Linked DNA regions of Homo sapiens: all the other regions are linked to region 1. The links are contacts of gene promoters, found by promoter capture Hi-C in human tissues and cell types (Jung and others, 2019). All regions are on one chromosome and are shown on one strand. Each heading gives the region's core, a stretch centred on a gene start or on the middle of the fragment in contact. The rest is flanking DNA. Distances are from core to core; before and after follow the strand shown. Region 1 holds the start of CADM1 (cell adhesion molecule 1). Region 2 overlaps CADM1 (cell adhesion molecule 1). Region 3 overlaps CADM1 (cell adhesion molecule 1). Region 4 overlaps LINC02698 (long intergenic non-protein coding RNA 2698). Region 5 overlaps CADM1 (cell adhesion molecule 1).

Evidence for each region. The method cuts DNA at HindIII sites, captures the fragments that hold promoters and counts their contacts. A contact is called where the count stands out against the background at its distance.
Region 2: a contact is called between a fragment that was not itself captured here and the fragment with the promoter of CADM1 in region 1, in 1 of the 25 tissues and cell types used here (H1 embryonic stem cells).
Region 3: a fragment that was not itself captured here is called in contact with the fragment with the promoter of CADM1 in region 1 in 1 of the 25 tissues and cell types used here (heart left ventricle).
Region 4: a contact is called between a fragment that was not itself captured here and the fragment with the promoter of CADM1 in region 1, in 1 of the 25 tissues and cell types used here (heart right ventricle).
Region 5: a fragment that was not itself captured here is called in contact with the fragment with the promoter of CADM1 in region 1 in 4 of the 25 tissues and cell types used here (IMR-90 fibroblasts, bladder, dorsolateral prefrontal cortex and 1 more).

Annotation. Positions count from the first base shown.
Region 1 is chr11:115,503,099-115,505,798 of GRCh38, forward strand. It overlaps CADM1 (cell adhesion molecule 1), which reads right to left and starts at 1,317. Exons shown (of 12, transcript NM_001301043.2): 1 at 1,173-1,317. The coding sequence starts at 1,296. RefSeq lists a silencer at 1,343-1,502. The HindIII fragment of the contact is 7,329 bases long and covers 1-2,700 here.
Region 2 is chr11:115,372,517-115,375,216 of GRCh38, forward strand. All of the region lies in intron 1 of CADM1 (cell adhesion molecule 1), which reads right to left. Among named protein-coding and RNA genes, the nearest start is that of CADM1-AS1, 23 kb to the right of the region's middle. The HindIII fragment of the contact is 3,741 bases long and covers 1-2,700 here.
Region 3 is chr11:115,282,013-115,284,712 of GRCh38, forward strand. The region is part of intron 1 of CADM1 (cell adhesion molecule 1); the gene reads right to left. Among named protein-coding and RNA genes, the nearest start is that of CADM1-AS1, 110 kb to the right of the region's middle. The HindIII fragment of the contact is 6,448 bases long and covers 1-2,700 here.
Region 4 is chr11:115,698,822-115,701,521 of GRCh38, forward strand. The region is part of intron 2 of LINC02698 (long intergenic non-protein coding RNA 2698); the gene reads left to right. Among named protein-coding and RNA genes, the nearest start is that of LINC02698, 41 kb to the left of the region's middle. The HindIII fragment of the contact is 4,913 bases long and covers 1-2,700 here.
Region 5 is chr11:115,350,407-115,353,106 of GRCh38, forward strand. The region is part of intron 1 of CADM1 (cell adhesion molecule 1); the gene reads right to left. Among named protein-coding and RNA genes, the nearest start is that of CADM1-AS1, 45 kb to the right of the region's middle. The HindIII fragment of the contact is 3,162 bases long and covers 1-2,700 here.

The DNA of each region.
Region 1 (2,700 bases), core at 67-2,566:
CAGGGGCCAGAGGACGCCGCGCGGCTGCCAAGCGCGGCGAGGTGGCGGGAAGGGAGGCTGGGTGCAGCACAGCCGGCCTCTCCGCTGAGGAAGAGCTCCGGCTCCCTTTTGTTAGCAAAAGCAAACACTGCCCTCTTCTTTCCCGACCGCGCCAACGCGCCCGGCACACGGGCAGCCACACATCGGGCTCCAGCCGAGTGCTCGGTGTCTTCAGGGAAGGCACCGGGCGTGCAGAGCCGCCCCTGGGCAAATTCCCAAGACTGCTCTTCACGCAGGGAGCGCGCGGAGGCCCGCAGGGTGCCCGCCTGGCCGCAGAGGCCGCGACGCCCCCTCCGCCACCCTCGGGCCGCCGAAAGAACGGGCAGCCGGGAAATCCCGTGTCCCCACTCGTGGCAGAGGACGCTGTGGGGCGGGCGGGCTGCGGGCTCCCGGCGCCTTCCCGCAGAGGCGGCGACAGCGGCCGCCCCCCCCGCGGGGCCGGGCCGGGGAACTTTCCCCGCCTGGAGCCGGGCCAAAAAGACCCGCAGCAGAGCCGAGGGGGCGGAGGGCTGCGAACGGCCGGAGGGAAACACGAGAGGCGTGCAGTTTGGGGACAGGGGAGAAAGGCAGAGCGCGTTGGGGGAAGGGGCAGGGGAGATCAGACAAGTCTGGGGATGTCCTGGGGACCGGGGAGAAATCACGCCGCGGGCGGCTGGGAGTCAGCCACCAGGAGGCTTCGGGGATGGAGAACTGGGGGGGCCCTCTGGAGAGGTGGGGGCGAATGGACAGCCCTGGGAGGTGGGAGGACCTGCAAGTTACGGGGAGAACGGCGAGTTTAGAAGGGTCCGGAAGGGTTGAGGTTGTCTTTGAACCATCCCCTTCCCCCATGCTTTACAGCCCCCGGGCCCCCCATTCTCACTCCACTCTGCACCCCGCGCCAAGCCGGGGAGAGAAGGTGTGGGTGCAGCCATCCCTGGGGACTCTCATTCACACTTAGCCGGGCAGGGGAGAAGGGGCTCACAGATGCCCTCAGCCCCTTCCCTCTCAGCCCTGAGTTTCCTCTCCACACTCCCTCCGCTTCGGATGTAGGAAGTGGGGGGAGGTTGTCATGGAAACGTTTCCCCCCTCTGTGGCCAAGGCTACTGGGGTGCCTTCGGAGATTTAGGGGCCAACCGGTCGGTGCCCACACCTACCTGTGGGGATCAGTGCCGCGGCGGAGAAGAGCAACAGCAGAAGCCGGAGCCGGAGCCCGGGAGGCGCCGCCGCCGCCGCTGCCGCCGCACACTGGGATCCGCTCGGCAGCACTACACTCGCCATGTCGGGCACCTGCCTCAGACTGGCGGCGTTGGCTGCCTCCGGAGCCCGAGCGGACAGCTAATGAGATGCTAATGACATGCGCTGGAGGCGGAGTCCGGGCAGACCAATCACAGCGCCGCGAGCCCAACCCGGCTCTCGGAGGGCCTCGCTCCCTCCCCCACCCCGCCCCCTGGCGCTGGCGTTCGGCGGCGCGCCCGCGCCACCTAGGGGCGGGGCCAAGGGGAGGGGCGTATGCAAATATGTTTATGTTAAAATTCGGGTTTTGCTTTCCCCGGATCAAGGAAAAAGTGTTCTCCCGGGCGCCTGGCGTGCAAGGACTCGGGCTCCAGGGGGCGGGTCTAGCTTCTTGTACACCTTTATTAGGAATGTTTATAGCAATCGCTGTATCAGACCGACGACTGGAGAATCTCCCTTAAGAGGGTCCTCTGTCCCGCACACCGAGTGCATCTGGCCTAGCGAACCAGACGTTGCAAATTTCCGTCACTCACCTTGCACCGAAGGAATAGATCTTTGGGAACGGGGGCTGTGCGGGAGTGGAGAGTAAGAAGGCAGGTCCCCGGATTGACAAAACAATCTGGGAGAAGTGCATGCGTGCTTTGCACGTCCGGCGGAGCGGGAGAGCCCGCTCAACAGCCTAGCGGTAGACTCGGGGATAGTTGGAGAAGGCAGCCGTAGAGTCGGGTTCTGAGATTTTCCAGTCGGTCTTTTTGCGGCAGAATCTCGGGAAAGGTAGATCGAGGAGGGTATGCTCAGGCTCCTCCGCTTGTCGAGGGTCTCCTCCCTGGTTTTAATATATAGGTGTGTGTTGAATATATGTGTGAAATATTTGTAATATTAGATATTTAAGATTACACAACAACGGAAAAAATTAGTCAAGGCTTCAGGTGAAGAGCGGGGGTGGTGGGAGTTGGGGAGAGGGAGTGTGGTGAAGGCAGGGTCTGCCGTGTTCCTCCTTCGGGGCTCAAACCCTCTCACTCCTCCTCTGCGCCCCCAGCCCTTCCTAAGGAAGCTGGGGACCAACAGGTGCTCCGAGCTTCCCCTGTCTCTGGGAGAGCCTCTCCTGCTAAAGCGACTTGCATCTCCGGACTCACTCTCCCTCCCCGAAATTCTCTTTGCTTTCTTTTCAGCCAGGCAGCCGGCTCTCTTGTTTGTCTGCTTTTTAATTACTTATTTTCTTCCCCTCTAGAAGATCGTGTGCGCTCTGACCCTCTGTTGCTCAAGCATCAAATTGAAGGACGAGCCATATTAAGTGTAAAGGTTTATAATAATTTAAGTATTCATAGAATGCAGAACAATAAGATGTAGGAAATACAATTTGCATAATAAATATCAATATCACAACAGCTAAAACAAACCATGACAAATTATCTGTGGCTAAATGACCAAGAGATTACTGAATGTAAA
Region 2 (2,700 bases), core at 148-2,647, 130 kb before region 1:
TCTTTGCCTCCCTCTCAAGAACATTGATAAAAATGTGAAAGTTTGCAAATTTAACATAAAACAAAGCTAATATTAAATGAATGTAAAAGATTATCAAAATTAATGTGGTTAAATTTTTAACCAAAGTCTGATCTTATGGTGTAGTCATTTCCAGGCTAATTAACTTCTTTTTCACCTATTATCAATACAAATCAATTAGAAGCTAAATGTTCAGATATAGATCTATAGTCTACTCTAAGAGAGAGAAGTGATAAAATGACCAGCCAGAGTCAAATTTTAGAACTCTGAATGCAGAAACAAGAACAAGGAAAACACTGGAACTCTCAGGTGAGCATGGATGAAAGAAGGCATAACCTAAACCAGGCCTGGATCTGCAGAAGTATTCAAGATGGGCCCCAAAGGCTTGTGAATTCAGGTATGCACCTGTTACTCCTTTGATTGTCAATTAACATTTCTGCCTAAGAGGAAAGAAAAGGAACAAGGGTACAAGGACATAAATTGCTCTGATATTTTATCAAATGCAGAGTTGCCTTTAAGCAAATCTACTCCAGTACCAGGCATTCTGCTCAAAGCAATGAGGGAGGATTCTCTCTCTGGCCTTGGGCAGAGCCTTAGTTGTGAGGTTCACCTGTATTTTAGCATTTCAAGCGGTCAAAGATAACTGCAGCCTGGCTTTCACAGAAGTGAAATAACTCAACTTTACTGTCAGATGCACAGACCAATGAGTTAAACAAGAAAAGAATTCAGATTGTACACAGGTGGCTCATCAAGAATATGGTCAACCTTGGCCAGGCGCACTGGCTCATGCCTGTAATCCCAGCACTTTGGGAGGCTGAGGCAGGTGAATTACTTGAGGTCAGGAGCTCTAGACCAGCCTGGCCAACATGGCAAAACACCATCTCTTCCAAAAATAAAAAAAGTAGCAGGGTGTGGTGGTGCACGCCTGTAGTCTCAGCTGCTCCGGTGGCTGAGGCGTGAGAATTGCATGAACCTGGGAGGTGGAGGTTGCAGTGACCCAGATCATGCCACTGCAGTCCAGCCTGGGTGACAGAGCAAGACTCTGTCTCAAAAAAAAAAAAAAAAAAAAAAAAAGAAGAAGAAGAAGAAGAAAGAATGTGGACAATCAACAAAGAAAAGGGGGATTCTAAGAAGAAAATGGGAGGTTCCATTTAAGTATCTATAACATAAAATAGTTCGTAAAAAATAGATCAGTGGTTCTCATCCTTGGGTGAGTATCAGAATCACCTGTGGAAATTGTTAAAAATGCAGATGCCAAGCTTTACCTCCCAGAAACTACTGTGCGTATGATGTATCCCAGTTTAAGAATCTCCAATGCTGGTGTCAGGATTTTTCACATGCATGAATGAAAACACAAATACATGATTTTAAGTGAAAGCTACGTAGTCTTGAATTTGAATTGGAAGAGTCAAAATGGAGTCCTTATACATTTTATCTTTAAGACAACAACAATACATTGCCTAGTTCTGTACACTAAAAAGATCTAAAAACAGTGACCTATCCAGTAGGAATAAGCACATCCCAGGGACCAGAGTATAGTTTCTAATTTTCCACTAAAAGAAATGAGCTTCTAGGAGAAATAGCTGATTCCAGGTTTGAGGCAAGAACAAAACAAAACAAAAAACCTTCTAAGATGAGCCTGGAATATCTTATCGCAACCAGAAAAGGATATTAGCAAAGATTCTGGGGTCATAATAAAAGAGTCTTCCACTAGCCAAAAGCAGGATAATTTGAGCATCAGTAAGAATAATAATTGAATGGATTGAAGCATGTTTAACCCTATAAATTCAAAATAATACTAAAGCAAAACAAAACTTTCATAAATACCTTTGAAGGGTGCTGAGAACCAACTAATTATTTTGAAAATCAGTAAATAAAGGTAAAGAATCAGTCATTTGTCTGGCCATTCTATGTATATTGCACTTAAGTTAAATGATAAGGGGAAGTTTCTCTTTATGAAGGAATGGCAGAATAAGATCCTCACCATTTTGCAGCCCTCACTGAAAGAATAAATCTACGCAGTGATCTTCAAATGGTTACTGACATCACATGCATACAAAAAGGTACAGACATTATATACCTACCTATGAAGTATTCTTACCCTTTATACCCTCCCATACCCCAAAAAAGAAAAGTAAGCCTGAATCTCATAGACTTATTTGACTAATAAGAAATAAAAAAATTTTTAAAAAACATGTTAAACAACATCAGGAAGACATAATAAGCAAAATCAGACTGTGGGCAATTATGGGACAAGCAGTCCAGTTTCTTAAACTTCGAGGGAGAAAAAAGGGATGAAGAAGCTATAGGCTAAGAAAAACTTGGCGTGCTAATCAAGTAGTTATACTCACGGACTTCATTTGACTCTTGACTCAACAAATAAAAAGGTTTTTTTCAAAGTAATAATAATATAAGGCAATTACAGAATTTTAATACTGCCTGGATATTGTTGGTACAAAAGTATTTAGGTAAGAAAATATTATTGTGGTTATCTTTTTAAAAAAGAATCCCTGTCTTTTAGAGATACATACTGAAATCTTGATGGAAAGATAGTACAATGTCTATAATTTTCTTTAAAATGATCCATGGTTGGGGGAGTGGGTGAGATTACAGGTGAAATAATATTGGTCATGAGTTAATAACTGTTGAAGTTGAGTGATAAGAACATGATATTCAATACAC
Region 3 (2,700 bases), core at 22-2,521, 220 kb before region 1:
CATCTTAGAGTTTTATTGAAAATGTTTGTCTAGATTTAATAAGATCCTTCCAGTTCCTTGCTTTATTATTTTTTTTGGTAGACTCTTAATAAAAAGAAGAATTACTGAATAAGTAATGCTGATTACCATGAACCAAGTACTATGGTGATGTCTTATATGGATTATCTTTTTGCTATCGTCACAGTAATCCTATGGGATAGGTTCAGTGAGTAATCTTATTTTGCAGATGAAGAAAATGAGTGGTTATGTAACATGCTTAAGGAAGCACAGCCAAACTGGTACCCAAGCCAGGATTCAAACCCAGCTGCATCTACCCTATGGCTGGAACCTTTAGCTTCCAGGATATTATCTTGTACTTTTGAAAATGTGACGTGATGACCTAGATACATGATTATGAGTAAATGTAAAGGTCAGACCTCATTATTTAAATATGAACACAATATAAGAGGCATCTTAAGTTCTGACGACACTATAGTTAGCAACTTGGGTTCACAATCACCAGTGCATTCTTATCACAACACTATAAAAACATAGCCCAGAATGCCCACAGCTTTGTTCCCTCATTCATTTCTAGGAAAGTGTTGGCAATTTGCTCTCTGGGGAGCTGTGATGGGAGGACCAATGGTTCTCCTAGGGTGTTGTTAGAGGAGACAGATGACCAAGGCAGCTCTCCATGGAGGCTGCATTTTGGGTTTCTGGTCAACACATCTTCATACACCAATCGCCTTAAATGGTCAAAGTAGCTGAGACAAGAAGGACTATGAATTAGGGAACAGTCAGGATCTTGGCAATTATTTACAGGGGATGGAAGAGGTTATAAATGGGGACATGCTTATATTAAAATGGAAACGAAAGCTAAGTGGGGTTAAGAAAAAATCCAGGGTTTATAGTAAAATACAGTATTCTACAGAGCATAGAAATTACTGGCCTTTAACGTACACCAAGGCAAATGGCCCCATGAATCCATCTTTAGCCTCTCTGTGGGCTGAATTATGCTCCACACGATATACTAAAGACAGCCATGAACAGCTTTTATAGCTTTGATGAATGGCTTTTTAGTTTAGGTTGCATTATGAGAACAAAACAAGTGGTTGTGAATCATAACATTTTATGGGTCTGCTGCTTCATATAGTTTTCTAAAATTAAGCCTCTAAATTATATTCTGCCCTCATTAGGAAAACAGTCCCTGAAAGAGGAAAGCATTTTAGAGGCTACGCAAAAAGAGGTGATGGTAGATCTGTGCCTGGAGAGCCTGAAGTATAATTAAATCGATGGGAGCTGAGGAAGAAAGGATAGGTTGGTAGAAGGAAGTCATGTTGCTGCCCAAGAACCCAGGGCCAGAAGACAATGACTATAATCAGCTGGAGTTCACTGCCCCTAAGCAAACAAGGTTCAGAGGCCAGCCATTTTCAAATTATAGAAGGTATTGGAAGGAACGCAGTGAGGGGAAGTCATCCCTGTGTAAAGCCACAGAGGTGGAGGGAAGGGAAGAGGGTCTAAGCAAATCAGTGAGTGTTTACTGAGTATTTACCATCCACTGAGTGCTGTTTAAGACCCTATAGGGTTTAAAAAGGCAGCATAAAAATAAAATGAAGTCCATTATCCTCAAAGTAGTTACCATCCAGCCAGGGAGATAACAGACAGAAAGAAAACAATGCAAGGCAGCAAAAAATTAAATGCCAACTTCCCTGGAAGCTACTAAAGCCACGCCAGACATTCAGGGCAAAGTGGGATCGGTGCAGAAGACTAGGCAAGGTCTGGGCAAGGCTCCCACAGGGCCCTGTGCCACCTGTCGTAGTGTCTACCATGCTGCTGTAAAGGCCTGGCCTTGCTTACAAGTCCCCACTACACTGTGAGGTCTCAGTACAGAGGCTTGCCCACCTTGTTCAGCGTGGTATCTCCAGTGCTCAAATGTCTCTTGAATAGGACTGAATGCAATGGACAAGTGAAGAAAAGCTTTAAGGGATCGGGTCCTAGACTTGCTCCTGAAAAATGGTAAAATTATTGAGGCTGAAAGTGGCGTTCCAGGCAGGGGGGCCTGTGAGAACCAGGGTGAAGATCTACAAGCCCAGACACTCTCTCTCTCTCTCTCTCTCTCTCTCTGTGTGTGTGTGTGTGTGTGTGTGTGTGTGTGTGTGTGTGTATGGTGAGGAGGCAGAGAAAGCAGACGTGGGCAGACAAGAGAAGCACTTGTAGTTTGAAGACTTTCTGCTCCTAGAAATGGGTCAATTATTTTGTGGCCTAGAGATGATCCAGTATTACATTATTACTAACAAAAATAGATGTGAATTATTTTAATACTACTACTGTCGATGTTGTCTGTTGCCAGCAGAAATAATTCCCACACACAGCACAAGAGAAGGGAACAATAGGCTAGCCAGTCCTTTACTAGAATAATGCTCCCGGCTTCCATTTCTTTTCAATAGATTTTCATGTCAGTTTCACTGCTCTACTTTACCAATTATTTAAAGGTTATAGTCAGTCAGACAAGGTTTGTCTAAAAAAAAAAAACAGAAAGGAAAAACGTAAGAGGAAGATAGTTTTCAAAAAGGAATAAAGCACATTCATGAAAGTTTACATACTGTAACCAAGCACAATTCCAAATGTCTAGTTCCTCCTTTTCTATTTTTTCTTCACCACTACAACCACCCCAGTCACTCTGATTAATTTTTTTTAAAAAAGAAAGAATACAAACATTTT
Region 4 (2,700 bases), core at 33-2,532, 200 kb after region 1:
TGTATTCATGTGTACACAATGTTTAGCTCCCAGTTACAAGAGAGAACATGTGGTATCTGGTTTTCTGTTTCTATGTTAATTCACTTCGGAGAGTGACCTCCAGCTGCATCCATGTTGCTGCAAAGGATCTAATTTCCTTCTTTTTAATAGCTGTGTAGTATTCCATGGTGTAGATGTACCACATTTTCTTTATCCAATCCATTGTTAACGGGCAACTGGGTTGATTCCACATCTTTCCTATTGTGAATGTGCTGCCATGAATATACAAGCGCAGGTGTCTTTTTGGCAGAACGATTCCTATTTATTTGGGTATATACCCAGTAATTTCTATTCCTTTGGTTATAGACCCAGTTCGCTTGCTAGGTGAAATGGTAATTCTATTTTTAGTTCTTTGAGAGATCTCCAAACTGCTTTCCACAGGGGCTGAGCTAATTTGCATCCCCACCAACAGTGTATACTCGTTCCCTTTTCAGAAAGTATTTTCAAGTTTGTCAGACTGGGGACACTGTGTTCTTTTCTACAATTGGCCCCCGAAGTGAAAAGCCCCTAGTAGAAGTTTCTCTGGGCAGTTCAGTCTCAGGAAGTCCCTCTCCCATGGCTCCATGCCCCTTCCCCTGGGCATGGTGTCCCTTTGCTTTTCTTGTCTTTCCCAGACTCTTCGTCTGCCAGCCCTACCCTGAGCTCCGAAGTCACAGTCAGTTGGGGCTGGTGAAGGTGGGGAGGAGCCTCCAGCACTGGCCATCCTCCTGGCAGGGGCGCTTTCCCACAGCACCCTTCTATTCTGTATGGCTTGGCTTTTGCAGTGACACGTTGAAGACCATCATTGCTGTTTATTGAACACTTGGTGCTCTTCTGAGTGTCTCACTGCACAGATTCATTTAATCCTCACAAGAATCTGGTAGCATGTTCATGGTTCGCATTTTACTGACAAGAAAATGGAGGCATAGCAAGATGGAGTCACTCATCCAGGCCCACAGCCTGCAAGTGTTGGAGACAGGATGTGAGCTTCAGCAGTCTTGAGTGCCCAAGAGTACTCTTCCTTTCTGGTACTGAATGCCGGGGACATTTAGTAGTGATTTTTTTTTTTTTTTTTTTTTTTTGGCAGGCTGGCCTAGGAAACTTTCTGCTGTGAATAACACAGCTCTACATGCCAAGTTCCAAGCAGCTGACGTATTAATGAGCATAGCTGTGGCCTGCCTGCTCTTTTGTGTCCCCCTCAGAACTTGAACAAAAGACATGCTCCATGGGTGTTGGGTGGGTGGTTGATTGATTGAATTTTTTACCCACAGGAAGCTCCACTGGCTTCCACAGCTTCTGAGGTTGGAGAAAGGAAGGAGGGAGGGAGGCGTGGTGGTCTATGTGAACAGGTTCCTCTCCATCGGCAGCTTAGTCCTGGGGTGCATGCTGTGCCTCCTTCTTGGGTAGATTTTTGGGGCAGACGCTATGGATTCCTGTGAAGTTGGTGAAGCAGATCCACACTGAACTCCCTTTCAACCTGGTGGACCCCTCATTCTTTTCTTTCAGCCTGAGGACCTGGCAGCCTCTGAAAGCACGTCTGCAGAACATGCTGAATAGGCCAGTGCCCACGGGAAGATAGTCCTTAGGGCTAGCTAGCTGCTGTACTCACTTTCCTAGGATGGCTGTGGGTTGGAGTTCATGGGTCTCCCAGGCTTCTTAGAGACAGAAAGAGCAAACCAGAGAAAGCTTGACTCCAGTGCCCAACCTAGGAGGAGGTCAGGCAGTATAGAGAGACACACAGGTTAGCTGACAGACATTTCAGATCTACCTCAGGCTCAAGATGCCACACCTGCTGTTACTTGTCCAGGGAGTCAGCCCTCGAGATGCCCCCTGTGGGGAGACCTCAGAGGGTGGGGAGACCAGAGGGAAGAACGGGAGGAGGGGGAAGAAGATGTCATGTACTGAACTGAGAACACTCAGGGAAATAAAGGATCTATTTTTTTCAATTTGTTCTCAGCAAACATTTGTCATTTAATTTCTTCCTAATTACACAATTACGTAATTATGTAGTATTAGTAAAATAAAGCCTAAAGACGTTTGAGTAAAGAATTACTTAAGTAAATAATGTCTGACTGAAGTAATTATTTCCAGGGTTTTCTTTTTTAAAGGAGAATGGGATAGAATTAGTTCAGGCATTGTTGCAGGGCTGCATGGGGGTTTGGGGTGCCGCACAGCTGGGGGCAGCTACGAGGCTCCGTTGCCCACTGGGGTCCAGCTTCTTGGCAGCTTCCTTTCTCTGTGGCTGAGGCTCTGATGGCAAGTTCCAACCCTGCTATTGGCTAGGTGGCTTGGGAACTGACTTCTCCTTTGAGTCTCACTTGGCCCTTCAGAGAGGGAATTCCTGGCTCCAGTGGGTGGGGAGGACTGGGGTGGTCGAAGGAGACTTTGGGCAGAAGTAAGTCCTCAGTGACTAAGGGCTGTGCCTCAGCCACACCAAGTTTACCAAGAGGCAGCTATGGGTGAGCCCACCACATGCAGTGATAAAGAGTTCACCCACCAGCTGTACCAGCAAGTGCCTCGGTGGTAATGTGGTGGCAGTGATGCGTTGGATGGGAGGGTAGACCTCGGGCTGCAACACTAGCTGGAGACCTTATGTGGGCAGATCCCCGGGGTCAGGCTGTGGTCGACCCTGGGTGTTTCCATCCTGGCCTGGGGTTGTAGAGGTGCAGGTTTCTCCAGGGT
Region 5 (2,700 bases), core at 67-2,566, 150 kb before region 1:
GGGAAGGGGAGAGGTGGAAAGCCAGGGAGAGAGGAGGTGCCCTGTAGAAATCCTAAAAGTGCTTTGCCTCACTATCTGAGAGCCTATGACCATTCTTTTTTTCTTTTTTTTTTTTTTAATAAAAACCACAACATATTTAGGTCATATATATTTAAACATCAAATAGGAATACACAATAATTAAGAAAATGGCTAGCTGGCTAATTTATTCTGAGTTTGTCCCATACTAACTAAAAAAAAAAATTAAATCTATATAAAACGAAACAATGCTTATGAATTAAACACTGTATTTCATGCCTTAAAAGAACTTAGCGCATTAGCAATTAGCATTTTCTTTGTTTTGAATTCATTGAATTTATATCATCCTTCAACACTGTTTAGCTAAAGCAAACAAAAACAAGAAAATCACATTATTCTTTCTAAGCCATATAAAAGTGATCTGGAAAGTCACGTTTAAAATCGCTATCATGGATTAGCTTAAGGCAATTATTTCACTTGCCGCATTCTTTTACGAGAAGTTAAAAAAAAAAAAAAAAAGTCAAGCTTCTTGCCTAACAAGAAAAATGAAATCCCATTAGTTGTGTTTCCAGTGTATATTAACATTCCTTTTGTTTAGAAAGGTTAATATCCCCCAAATAAAGGAGCATACAGTGCCTGTTAAAATAATTACATCATGACATTTTAGAAAGGTTGGCAGATAGACATGGTTGCAAAAGCAAGGAAACAAACAAAAAAAAGTAAAAGCGAGTAGTTTTTAAATTATCTGTGACTTCAAAAAATGAAAAAGACTGGAAATTCCACCATGTTTGCAATTTCCTGCCACCTTGTCTGGTCTCTGGTATTTGGCTTTTCTCCTTCTTCTTCAATATCTTTCTGTCATAGAAACTTAGGAAGACGTACCTTCATGCTCTAAATCAGATGATCTACTATCTGAAAAGGAAACGACAAATCTGACAACAAAAGAATTTCACAACAGATAGGCAGTTGATAGCATGAGGCACTAACATTAAACCCAAGTCTTTCAATGGCCACTTGGAGTCCCAGGGTACAGAATTTGGTGTCACGATAAAAGAATAATTTTTGTATTCTAGCAAGCTGATCTAAGAGCCCAACATCAGTAAGACTGAAATCAGCGAGCAATGAAGTCTTCAGATTCTCCCCTATAAGACCTAGAGAAAACACTTCAAATTGTATGCAAACAAAATACAGAACTCTGGCCCTAATGCTTGAGGCAGAGAGAAGCAATTCTCCAGATATGTAAAATAAATTATTAATCTTTTAAACCTCTGGACACACAGAAAACATTCTCTTAATCAAAAATAGGCACAGTAGTAATATAAAACCTAACCAGCATGCTCTTTCTCATTCTCTAGGGCATAGGAGCCCCTCTGCAGCTCTGGAATTGGACGGCCTCTTCCTGCACTGCTCCCAAGAAAGTAGTGAATGAAGTAGGCAAGACAAAGATGAGGAGGAAGAAAGACAATGGTTTTCCTCACCACCACTTAAACCATAGGAAGCTTCCTCAGTTAATGACAGCTCAACCTCTGGACAGCAGGTCAGAGAAGCTAATTGAACAAGTACTTTAGGAGTTTATTAATATTCCCAAAAGTCATAGACTGCTTTACATCCGCAATTCCCAATAATGCCAATAACAAATTGTGCAGATGTAGTGATGAAAACACCACTGCCTTAAGAGTCTAAAAAAAGAATCCAATAAAATCAAATTAAAAGCCCCCAAGTTACCATAACAAAATCTCTGAAACTGTATAAATCTACTAAAGGGAATTCAGTGCAACATCTCACCTGACAGTTTCATAACAAAATTGTGACGGAAAGTCTGTCCCAGTTCTATACAAAAGTGGAGTACTGATCCCTTTGGCAGAGGGCTTGTCAGCACGGAATGATGATTCTAAGTCCCCATCTGATGCAGATATAGTGCCCTGCATTTAAGAAGCAATCCTCACGCACTTGTGCAAGAATGAATGAATGAACCAATGCATGGCTTACATGGAATAGTCTTCTAAAACAATCTCTAACACATCTAAACTGATATTTTTATATAACTGTCACAGGCTATGCAGAGTGCTGGATAAAATAGAGGAAATATTTTCTTTTCCCAGAAGCCAGCTAAGAGCTCATCTCCAGGAAAAATATTACAGGATGAGCAAAGTAAATTCCTTTCTCTTCCATATTCAAAGAATATGTGTTTCTTAGTAAAACAACAGAGAAGACTTAGGAAGAAGAAGAGGAGGAGCAGGAGAAGGTAGAAAAAACACAGCATTGTACAGTGATGGGCACTGTTTTTAGTATTTTTGTGTATTTTACACTAATTGGCTTAATCCTCACCACTGCCATATGAAATAGATATTATTATTATTATCCCCATCTTGCAGTCGAGGTAAGACAGAGGTAAGTTTCACTCAGCTAGTGCCTGTCACAGCCAGATTTCCAGGCCAGGCAGTACAGCTCCATAGTATTCCACGGTGTATATGTACCACATTTTCTTCATCCAATCTGCCACTGATGGGCATTTAGGCTGATTCCATGTCTTTGCTATTGTGAATAGTGCTGCAGTGAACATATGCGTGCATGCGAACTTGATTTCTCTTGAGATAACTTTTGAATTATTTCCTTATCTTTGTGTTCTGGACTGAAAATGCTAAAGGCTTTTTGAGTTTGATAATTTCTATTTATGTAATTC